2 separate regions of the Homo sapiens genome follow, and region 1 is linked to region 2. The links are contacts of gene promoters, found by promoter capture Hi-C in blood cells and fetal thymus (Javierre and others, 2016). All regions are on one chromosome and are shown on one strand. Each heading gives the region's core, a stretch centred on a gene start or on the middle of the fragment in contact. The rest is flanking DNA. Distances are from core to core; before and after follow the strand shown.

The links. The method cuts DNA at HindIII sites, captures the fragments that hold promoters and counts their contacts. A CHiCAGO score of 5 or more calls a contact.
Region 1: a fragment that was not itself captured here is called in contact with the fragment with the promoter of SPATA3-AS1 in region 2 in 1 of 17 cell types (total B cells); the score reaches 5.8 in total B cells.

Annotation. Positions count from the first base shown.
Region 1 is chr2:230,140,573-230,146,433 of GRCh38, forward strand. It overlaps LOC107985995 (a long non-coding RNA gene), which reads left to right. Exons shown (of 6, transcript XR_001739918.2): 6 at 1-1,603. Among named protein-coding and RNA genes, the nearest start is that of SLC16A14, 75 kb to the left of the region's middle. RefSeq lists an enhancer at 104-632. The HindIII fragment of the contact is 1,024 bases long and covers 3,390-4,413 here.
Region 2 is chr2:230,991,795-230,997,940 of GRCh38, forward strand. It overlaps SPATA3-AS1 (SPATA3 antisense RNA 1), which reads right to left and starts at 4,238. Exons shown (of 6, transcript NR_033879.1): 1 at 4,054-4,238; 2 at 3,483-3,591; 3 at 540-608; 4 at 1-181. SPATA3 (spermatogenesis associated 3) reads left to right here and starts at 4,327. Exons shown (of 5, transcript NM_139073.5): 1 at 4,327-4,740. The coding sequence starts at 4,440. RefSeq lists an enhancer at 3,838-4,371. The HindIII fragment of the contact is 18,304 bases long and covers 1-6,146 here.

The DNA.
Region 1 (5,861 bases), core at 2,652-5,151, 850 kb before region 2:
GCATCTGGCGCAAGAAATTTCTAAGCAGCAAAGTGTTTAAGATGTGACCTGGCTATTTCTAAAAGTGTACCCTCATATTTGTGAAGAAGGACATGGTCTGAAATTGGAACTTATATTTAAAAGGGAAGCAGAGCATAAAAGTTTGGAAAATTTGCAGCCCGACCATGTGGTAGGAAAAAAAAAAACTCTTTTTCTGTGGAGGAATTCAAGGCTGCAGAAATTTGCATAAGTAAAGAAATGTTAATAGCCAAGACAATGGGAAAAATGCCTCCAGGACATTTCTGAGACCTTTGTGGCAGCCCCTTGCATTGCAGTCCTGGAGGCCTATGAGGGAAAAATGGTTTCGTGGGCCAGGCTCAGGGCCATGCTACTCTGTGCAGCCTCGGGACATGATGCCCTGTATCCCAGCTGCTTCAGCTCCAGCCATGACTAAAGGGGGCCAAAGTACAGCTTGGGCCATGGCTTCAGAGGGTGCAATCCCTAGGTCTTGGTGGCTTCCACGTCGTGTTGGGCCTGCAGGTGTGCCAAAGTCAAGAGGTGAGGTTTGGGAACCTCTGCCTAGGTTTCAGATGATGTATGGAAATGCCTGGATGTCCAGACATAAGTCTGCTGCAGGGGCAGAGCCCTCACAGAGAACCTCTACTAGGGCAGTGCAGAGGGGAAATGTGGGGTTGGAACCCCCACACAGAGTCCTCACTGGGGCACTGCCTAGTGGAGCTGTGAAAAGAGGGCCACCATCCTTCAGACCTCAGAATGGCAGATCCACCGACACCTTGTACTGTGCACCTACAAGTTGAGTGCCACAGGCACTCAATGCCACCCTATGAAAGCAGCTAAGGGGCTGCAGAGCCACAGGGCTAGAAGTTCCTAAGGCCTTGGGAGCCCACCCCTTGCATCATTGTGTCCTGGATGTGAGACATTAAGTTAAAGGAGATTATTTTGGAGCTTTAAGATTTAAAGACTGCCCTGCTGGGTTTTGGACTTGCATGGGACCTGTAGCCCCTTTGTTTTGCCCAACTTCTCCCTTTTGGAATAGAAGCATTTACCCAATGCCTGTACCGCCATTGTATCTTGGAAGTAACTAACTTGTTTTTGATTTTACAGGCTCATATGTGAAAGGGACTTGCCTTATCTCAGATAAAACTTTGGAATTGGACTTTGAGTTAATGCTGGAATTAGTTAAGACTTTGGAGGACTGTTAGGAAGGCATGATGGTGTTTTGAAATGTAAGGAGGACATGAGATCTGGGAGGAGCCAGGGGTAGAATTATATGGTTTGGCTCTGTGTCCCCACCCAAATCTCATATGTTGCATTGCAGTCCCCAATGTTGGGGGAAGAACCTGGTGGGAGGTGATTGGATCATTGGAGGCAGATTTCCCCCTTGCTGTTCTCATGATAGTGAGTGGATTCTCATGAGATCTGGTTGTTTGAAGGTGTGTGGCACTTCCCCCTTTGCTCTCTCTGTCTTCTGCCAGCATGTGCAGAAGGTGCTTGCTTCCCCTTCGCCCTTCCACCATGAGTGTAAGTTTCCTGAGGCCTCCCAGCCATGCTTCATGTACAGCCTGTGGAACTGGGAATCAATTAAACCTCTTTTCTTCATAAATTACCCAGTCTCAAGTAGTTCTTTATAGCAGTGTAAGAACAGACAATACATCTAGCTTACATGGAGAAAAGAAATAAATTTTAGCTGGTTAGCTGTGTCCTCAGCCAAAAATTGGGATTCTTAATACTAAGGAAGGAAGAATGAGTATCAGGAGGCAAAATTATTTCAAGGATCAGTTTGGTTTCAACCAAGTAAAGTATAAAGAAAGACAGTGGATGGGTTATGGTCACCACAAACATATACTCTGTTTTTCAGCATGACATACAAATACAGAGTTAACTGTTCAGGATGCCAGAGAACTTTAGTTGTGTTATATTCACAGTTTTCAAAGAGAATGGCATCAATAAGAACACTGACCTGGTTTAAACATGGAAATCCACTAATAACTTTAAGCAAGTTTGAGGCAGCAGCATGAAATATATTCTTTCACAGAAGTTTATGTGTGGCATTTCTTTAGAGAAAGCATCCATTTCTGAATCAGTCAGGATTCAGTTCTAGCAATAAGAATCATCACCCTAGGTATTTTAAGCAGAAAGGACCTAATACAGGAATCAGATGCTGACAAAGTCCCTAGAAAGCTGAAGGAGTGAAATTGGGACCCCAAACCCCATGCCTGATTGATGTCAAGAGTAAACCACTGCAACCAGCATGATCTGGAGGTTAAGCAGCTGCCACCACCACAGCTCCTCCTGCCCCTTGACACTCATGCCTTTGTGAATTTGCTTGCCAGAAGAAATAGTGAGAGGGAGACGGCCTCCACTCCCTTCCATCTTCCAAATCTTACATCATTGCTTCTAACTGGTAGAACCTAAGTGGCATCCAGAACTCTAAAAGTAAAGAAGTCTTGGAAATGTAGTTCTGAGTTTCATAGATTTGGCAATGCTGGAAGTTACCACAAAAGGAGGGTAAAATGAAGATTGAATGAGCCAATCCATAGGATCTGCCTTTACTGCATTTAATTTTACCTACAGGCAACAACAGCAGCAAAAACAACAGATAGCATTTATTGAGCAACAACGGCAACCCTAACATGATGCGAGCTATTTTATAAACAATATGTCACATCCTCACAACAATTTTATATATAGGTATGATTATTTCTGATTTTAAAATGAGAAAAAGCTGAGGCTTACAATGGCCTTACATAAACCTAGGAGGTCGGGGCCTTCCCTTTAACATTTGTCTTGTACACTACTTGGCCCAAGGTGATCATTTCCTCACTGTTGAGAGTTGGGCCAATTGCGTGGGAGATTCAGGCCTCGATTCTCCACTGTGCTTTGGGTGTGGACACCTGGATCATGGAAGAAAGCCTTTTTCACCCATTGTTTTGATTACATTCTCCTGTCCTCAGGCCTTCCTTGTTTTCAGGCTCTAGTGGTTTCTACTACATTTTGACTTCAAGTTTTCTTGCTTCTCTCTAGGTGTTATAAGTCTTGCCCCTCTCCAACCCCAACTTTGAGAAAACAAAGCATCACTTTTTCTTTTCCATTGCTCAAGTATCTTTCCAGGGAAGGCATCAGGTCTTAGTACCTTTGTCCCCCAGGGGACCCAACACGGGGCCTGGTGGACTGTAGGCCCTCAGATTAAGAAACGGATTCATCAACCAATAAAACATACCTTTCTACAAACCCCTTCCCCATAAAAGCCAAGCTCTCTCTTTATTTTGGTTAACATTTTTTTTTTCCTGAGTCTGCTTGCTAGGGAACTGTTGAAATATTAAGCCATCTAAGAGCAAAGGATATCTTTGTTCCCCAGAAAGTAAAAGAAAAAGTAAAAAAATTTACCAAGCTTAACTTATATATAAGTCCTAGATCTAATATAAGTCATTTAATTTATCCTTAAAACGTAGAAAACTATTAAAACTCTATTTTCTGATCTCAAAGGTGACTTCTGCTTGTAACATTAAGTGCTAAGTGGTAGTTTCATACTTTCAAATACAAATTATCAATTTTAAAATTAAAAAAATTTTGAATTGGGAATCTAAGTGGTGTAAAAGTCAAAGGGTTCAAAATGATATTTAGTAAAAAAAAAAAAAAAAAAAAATCTTTTCCTCTCCATTTTCCCAGGTCTCCCACTCTTCTCTAAGAGTCAACCAATGTTAACAGTTCTTCTGTGTTTTCCTTAAGAGATGATCTACAAAAGGCAAAGTATTGAGAATTTATCATTTGTAAGATAATTTTGGTTTTGATATCATAGATTTAGATTGGAAAGTTGTTTAAACTGGTATTTAGAGTTATAATTTATGTCACAAATGAGAGTTCATGATATCAGCAATAATTAACTTCATGATGTGAAAATCCTGTGCACCCCTGGGAACCTTAAACTCTGGGCAAGATACAAAAGGGAAGGGAAGAGAGGAAGTGGTAGGTAAAGTTACTTGCAATTGTTGAGAGTTCTTGTAAAATGTTCGTTGCTCATATTGAATGGTGCAATGATAGTGAGTTTAAAGTCAGATAGTGTGGGAGGTTTGGGCAAATGTTCAGAGAAGATATAGCTTTCATAAAGCTCTAAGAATAAATTGCTTTAAGGATAAAATGTGAATTATCTCAAAATTTCTAAGTTCTTATGAATATTTTATTTACTATAACTGCAAACACATTATTTCTGCATGAAACTAATTCTGGCTTCTACGTAGATATGCTATATAAACACATATTGACTACTTTAAGAATAAACTTGGGCAAAATCTTAAAAGCAAGAATAGAAAAGTAGTAGTTCATAATACTCATCATAAGAAAATGTTGAATGAATTCAGGCCATTGTTTAGAAGAAGTTCAAGACTGTAAAATCAGCCATGCTTATGGATTTTAAGCTTTTTTTTTCTCCTCTGAGAAGGTCAAAGTCTGTTTCTGGAACTACCTGCCTGATGGCCATACAAACACATATATATGCAGTGGAGAGAAAACTGCACATTGGTGGAGGTGGGGAGAGGATGTCAGAGTGTTCTTGTGAGCCAAGAGGACTTACAAGTAGGGTCTGGCTTTGGGTTATTGGAAACGACCTGTCCAAAGGGCTTCATGCCAAAGGAAAGGGGCCTCAGCCGAAAGAGGCTGGAGGTTACTATTGGTAGCAGAGGATGAAAATAGAGTGAGAAGCACCTGGCTAAAGACAAGGATTTCCCAAGAGTCCAAAGGGGATAACTTAGACCTAGGATCCCACAGTGTGGTATAGAAAAGAAAGAATCACCGCTGGGAATCTGCCCTACGCAGAAGATGCAAATGTCATATTACATCTGCCTTTGTTAAGGATGGCCTTTCCTGCCCGTTTCATGTTCTTCCAAGCTCTGTTCCAACACTGAAGGAGTCACAGGTGGGTAGGGGAAGCAGACAAGAAACCTTAATTCCACCTGCAACCTTAATTCCTTCTTGTAATGCAGCACAACATAGCCATATAACACAGCCATAAGCTTTGTGGGAGTGGGGGGATGTTATTCTGCCTATTATATTTACTAAAATGAGATTGTTCTTTGGAGCTGATAATGACCAAAGGACTTTTATTATTTAGAATAACTAGGCAAAATGCAATTCAAAACCATAATGAGTTATCTCCTCACATCCATTATGACAGCCACCATTAAAACAAAACACAGAAAATAACAAGTGCTGCTGAGTATATGGAGAAATTGGAACACTTGTGGATTGCCGGTGCAGTTGTAAAATAGTATGACCACTATAGAAAACAGTATGAAGGTTCCTCAAAAAATCAAAAATAAAATTACCATATGATCCAGCAGTCCCACTTCTAGGTATATATCCAGAAAGAACTGAAAGCAGAGCTTGAAGAGATATTTGTATGTCCATACTCATTGTAGCATCATTCGCAATAGTCAAGAGGTGGAAGCAACCCAAATGTCCATCATGCCTCATGGATGAATGGATAAATGCAGTGAGATATATATATATATATATATATATATATCTCCTATATATACACCAAATTATGACATAATTTCCTTCCTTTTTAAGGTTAAACAGTGTTCCATTGTATATATATATATATATATATATATATATATATATATATATATATATATGTAATTTCCCAATGGCTTAAAGAAGGAACAAATTATTGGTAAATGTCTTGATCTTATTACATATTATAAGATATAGTATAAACAAACTATAAGTTGTGTGTGTGTGTATATATATATACACAATGGAATATTTATATATACACAATGGAATGTTGATATATATACACAATAGAATATTGATATATATATCTTATATATAATATATGTAACATGTAATTGATATAT
Region 2 (6,146 bases), core at 2,988-5,487:
GCAGGAGGGACTGAGGAAGTGCTCTGTGTGGCAGAGTCCAAAGGTCAGGTACCCAAGGTCTGCCACTCTCCAGCTGGTGACCAGAGCAGGCATCCTCTCTATGGACCAGTGTCCCTCCTGTGTGACGTGAAGGTGAAGGGCTGGTTGATGTCCAGGGTGCCATCCAGCTCAGAGAAGTCAGCTTCAGGACAAATGGTGACACACTTATTCTAGGTGCCCAGGAAACCAGAACCATCAGAGACCTTCTGGGAGGAAATTTTCACCCCATCAAGACCTTATTCTGACTATCTAATTTCCAATTCCCTTCCCCTACCTAGTCTACTGCATTTTCACATGACTGGCATCCCTAGTTAGGAAACTCCCTTGCCCATGGACTAGTCCAGCTGTGATCCTCAGCCAAGGCCAGAGAAGTCCCAGTCCATTTTTGAAAACACCCCCTTGGTGATGAAGCCTTGGAGGTGCCTGATCCCACATGCCCACCTGCCCCCATCACAGCTTCCTGCTGTCGCAGCTTCCTGCTTTCTCTGTCCTAACTTTACCTTTATTCAGTTCCAGCAGCTTGCATTAAGCCCCTACTCTGGACTGTGGCCTTCTGAGGTTTCCACCATCTGGGGTTGGGGAATGAGAGGGAAGGCAGAGACAGAAATAATTCTAATGCCGTTCAGAATATGACCAGTCTCATACAAAGAGGTGCCCCGGAGCTCAGCAGCAAGGGAAGGATGGCTTCCAGTTGGAGATCTCAAGAAAGGCTTTTTTTTTTTTTTTTTTTTTTTGAGATGGAGTCTCGCTCTGTGGCCCAGGCTTGGAGTGCAGTGGCGCGATCTCCGCTCACTGCAACCTCCACTTCCCGGGTTTCAAGCAATTCTCCTGCCTTAGCCTCCTGAGTAGCTGGGACCACAGGCGTGTGCCACCATGCCCAGCTGATTTTTTTATATTTTTAGTAGAGACAGGATTTTGCCATGTTGGCCAGGCTGGTCTCAAACTCCTGACCTCAGGTGATCCGCCCGCCTCAGCCTCTCAAAGTGCTGGGATTACAGGCATGAGCCACTGTGCCCAGCTTAGAAAGGCTTTATGAAGAGATTTATCCACTTGAGATAGGGCTTGACCAGAAAATGCTTTGGTAGAGGTGCAGAGAGGGATGATAGAGGAGAAGGGCTTCTGAAAATGCAGGAATGTTCAGCCTGTTCATGAGATCTCTGATGTTCACGGTTAGCTAGAGCTGGACACAGGTAGTAGTAGTGGCTGATAAGCACTGGGCAGTGGGCTGTGGCTGTATTATGGAAGAGCCAGGCTTCCTGTATAGGAACAGGTGCTCAAACAGAAAGCAGTGGGGCCAGGCGCAGTGGCTCATGCCTGTAATCCCAACACTTACGGAGGCCAAGGCAGGCAGATCACTTGAGGTCAGGAGTTCGAGACCAGCCTGGCCAACAGAGTGAAACCCTGTCTCCACTAAAACTATAAAAATTAGTCAGGCATGGCGGCGCATGTCTGTAATCTACTCAGGAGCCTGGAGCATGCCTGTAAGCTACTCGGGAGGCTGAGGCAGGAGAATCAGTTGAACCCGGGAGGTGGAGGTTGCAGTGAGCCAAAATTGGGCCACTGCACTCCTGGAGACAGAGTGAGACTCTGAAAACAAAAACAAAAAGAAGAAGAAGAAGAAGGTGGGGGCTGCAGGGAAGACGTTCTAGCAAGGAGCTATTGAGGGACCATTCTTCCTCATTCTTCTGGGACAACCTCTTTCCACAGGTGCCCTCTCTCTGCTTCTTGGGACCACTCTTACTAAAGAATTCACACATATTTTTGCTGCTGCCACAGAGAAATTCCCCACTCCTCCCTCGGCCTGCCCTCTGTGCTTCCTCCATCTTTCTACAGGAAGACAGAGACTCATTCTCTGTGCCCTGTTTGGCTCCTTCTGGTAAAATGGAATATTTCTTTCATTGCTACCAGGAAGTTCTACCTATATGTGTCTGCTCCTATCTGATTCATTTACACCAACATGGCACAATCAGGGGCAATGTGGACACACACACTCCTACCCCATCTCTAGGGGACATTTAGCAATATCTGGAGACATTTTGGGTTGTCCTGGGGTAGGGGGGAGTAAAGACTGGGTAAAGACCAGGGATCTGGTAAACTTCCTACAATACACAGGATGACCCGCCACAACAAAGAATTACTCAGCCCAAAAATGTCAACAGGGCTGAGGTTGAAAAACACTGATTTAAACCAGGTTGAGGCCCTCGGCCGAAGCCCATTGGTACCTGAAAATCCAACTTTGCAGAGATTAATGCCTTAGGAGTTCCTGAGCTGTCTGCTAGATCTCAACAGGGTTCCCGGCCTCGGTTTCCAGTCTCTCTGATTCTAAATGGAGTCCCCTCAAGGGTTCCATTGCTCTTGGCTTCAGGAAATTACCAGCTTCATACAGATTCACTTGCTCCCAGAGCCTCCTTAGGCCAAGGTCAACCAAACACAACCCAATACTCTTGAGCTGAGCTTGCCTTCACTTCTGATCCTTCCTGCCTTTGTTTTCTTCAATCTTCTCGCTCAGGGACCTTTTTTTTTTTTTTGAGACGAGTCTCACTCTGTCGTCAGGCTGGAGTGCAGTGGCACAATCTCGGCTCACCACAACCTCCGCCTCACAGGTTCAAGTGATTCTCCTGCCTCAGCCTCCTGAGTACCTGGGACTACAGGCGTGCACCACCATGCCCAGCTAATTTTTGTATTTTTAGTAGAGACAGGTTTTCACCATGTTGGTTGGCCAGGATGGTCTCAATCTCTTGACCTCATGATCTGCCCGCCTCAGCCTCCCAAAGTGCTGGGATTATAGGCGTGAGCCACCGCACCAGGCCACTGGGGGACTTTTTAATTCATTATTTCAAAGCCTGTATAATTATCTGACTCCCTATTGTTTTCTGGGATCATGAAAATAATGAGCCCCAAACTGGAATTTAGTCCTTCCGATGCCCCCAGCCAGCTGTGTGACCCTGGGAAAGTAACTTAATTTCGCTAAACCTCAGTGTTCTGAGGAAAGGTCATCATTAAGGTATTTTTAGGCTCTAGAAGCCCTAAACTATGTCCTGTCATTTCAGAGTTCATGTTGGGTCTGGCTTTGTGTGGCCCAAAGCCCCCCATTTTTTTTTAAGACAGAGTCTCGCTCTGTCGCCCAGGCTGGAGTGCAGTGGCACGATCTCGGCTCACTGAAAGCTCCACCTCCAAGGTTCACGCCATTCTCCTGCCGAGTAGCTGGGACTACAGGCACCCACCACCACGCCCGGCTAATTTTTTGTATTTTTAGTAGAGACGGGGTTTCACCATGTCAGCCAGGATGGTCTCAATCTCCTGACCTCGTGATCTGCCCGCCTCAGCCTCCCAAAGTGCTGGGATTACAGGCGTGACCGAAGCCCTTTTTATCTGCATAGGTCTGCTCTAAACCTTCCGCTGGGGCAGGAGCTCCTGCGCTTGCCAGTCCCACACTCACCCACCTGTGACACACTGGCGATGAAAGCAGTCTCCTCAGGTGAACACATTTTATGTTGCAGTCACAGTATGAGCTTCAGATTGTCTTTTAAAAATACTTTTCCTTCTTCCATCCTAAAACAAAAATCACATTTAATGAGCACATTAAATTAATTAATCTAGAGAAAGATTCAGTCACCTGTTTAACCCAACCAATTGGGGTTTGGGAGATAGTCTGTGGTTGCCATTGCCATGAGTTTGAGACAAATGTTAGTTTTCTGAACAGCTGTTATGTTCTCAGGGAAAATTATCTGCCAAATGCAAAGGTTCTTATAAAAGTCAAGTCAACCCCCAAACTCCCCTCCCACAGTGCGGGAGGGCAGGCTTTGGGGGAAGGGGTAAGCTACTCTGAGATGGTAGCAGGCTCTGGGCCATGGTAAAGCCTTCGAAGAAGCTCCAAATCTTCAGGAAGCTGACCTGAAGATGAATGCGTGGGGAACATGGATTTTTGAGGTGTAGGAGTAGGGGGTATGTGGAAGCCAGTGACAGAGCTGAGCGTCACATCCAGGGTATCTTAGAGCAAAACAGGTAGCTCACATGGACCCAGGAACACGCCAGCAGAGAGGTGTCTGAAGGCAGCGCTCAGGTCGCAGAAGCATGAGGATCTGGCTGTCACCAGCCCCGTAGCCAGGGCTGTGAGGACCAGGGCAGCCGCTGTCCCCTGCCTAGCCTGGCAGCCTGGGATGAAGGAGGACACCAGGCTGGTGTCTGCAGAGAAGACTGTCCCTTGAAGCCCTGCCATAGGAGCCACCCTGGCTTTTATGACCTCACAGGAGGTGTGGGTCACTGTTCTCTGTGGGGCCTGGGTCCAGCTGGAGGCCCAAGCCAGGCTCCTAGGGCAGAGGGCAAACGGCCCCTCCAGGAGGGAGCCGGGAGATTACGCAGCTCCATGTAGGTCCACGTTTAGGTTGGGAGGATCTACCATGAAGAAGGTCAAGAAGAAAAGGTCAGAGGCCAGACGCCACCGAGACTCCACCTCCCAGCATGCTAGCTCCAATTCCACCTCTCAGCAGCCTAGCCCTGAATCCACACCACAGCAGCCTAGTCCTGAATCCACACCACAGCAGCCTAGCCCTGAATCCACACCACAGCATTCCAGCCTTGAAACCACCTCCCGGCAGCCAGCATTCCAAGCCCTTCCAGCACCCGAAATCCGCCGCTCCTCTTGCTGCCTTTTATCTCCAGATGCTAACGTGAAGGCAGCCCCTCAATCCAGGAAAGCAGGTGGGCTGTCTTCTAGCTTCAGCAGTTCCAGCCTTCCTGCTGATGGAGTTCTGGGTCATCCCAAAGGCTGGTTCTTGTAGGATAGTGATGCATGGTTAACGTGTATCCTGGAGCTGTGCTGTAGAGTGGGAAGGTTTTTGTTTTTGTTTCTACCCAAGAGACCAGGATTCCTGGGTTTTGTCATTTCTCATCATCCTGAGTCTCACTGAAGACAGCCACACATACATATAAACATTTAACTTGGTTCCATAGTAATACTTGCTCACTAGGAATCAGCAGTGCCATGCAACTGCTAAAAAATAAAAACCAAGGATGCATTTATAGAAGTATATGGTTTAGAATAAGGGAGGTGATGATACTGCTTTATTCTGTCCTCATCAAGCTATCCTTTTGGGCTGTAAAAGATGCCTGACAAACTAGTCCAAGGAAGATAGTCTGGGTTGATGGAGGATGAGAAGGATCAGGGAGACCATTTAGTGTATGACAGTCAATTGAAGGAATTGGAGGATGTCTGTCTGTCAAGTGGAAGATGTGAATAGACTTGTTCCTTATTGTCCTCAGAGATCTAAGGGTCTGATGTGGTTTGGCTGTGTCCCCACCCAAATCTCTTCTTGAATTCCCAGGTGTTGTAGGAAGGACCCAGTGGGAAGTGATTGAATCACGGGGGAGGGTCTTTTCCGTGGTGTTCTCGTGATAGTGAATAAGTTTCATGAGATCTAATGGTTTTAAAAAAGGGAGTTTCCCTGCACAAACTCTCTTCTCTTGTCTGCCGCCATGTGAGATGTGCCTTTCACCTTCCACCATGATTGTGAGGCCTCCCCAGCCACGTGGAACTGTAAGTTCCACAAACCTCTTTCTTTTGTAAATTGCCTAGTCTCAGATATGTCTTTATCAGCAGTGTGAAAACAGACAAATACAGGCCCATGGATAGGATAGCCAGACAAAATACAAGACTCTCAGTTAAATTTTAATTTTAGTAAACAACAAATAATATTTTTAGTATGTGTGTCCCCAGTATTGCATGGGCATCCTATATTTTTATTTGCTAAATTAGCAATCTTACCCATGGAAGACATTAGTGACAGAAAGCCTTCGGCTCAACATAAAAAACTTCCCAACAATTAGCTCTGTCTGAAAATGGAATGGCTGTCAGGAAAAGTGGTTCCCTGTCTTCTTGGGAGCCAAACAGTGTCTGTATAAGCATTGGATTGTGTAGAGGGAATTCAAGTGGAGTTCAGGAGGTGGGCTGGTTTATACTACTAACAATAATGGTGATAGCAAACTAACATTATCACTAAGCATTTACTGTGTACCTAGCATTCAGATCAGGTGTCTTAATTTTCACACGTGATAATCCTATAAAAGTTCTTCCATATTATCTCCATTTTATAGATGGGGAAACTGAG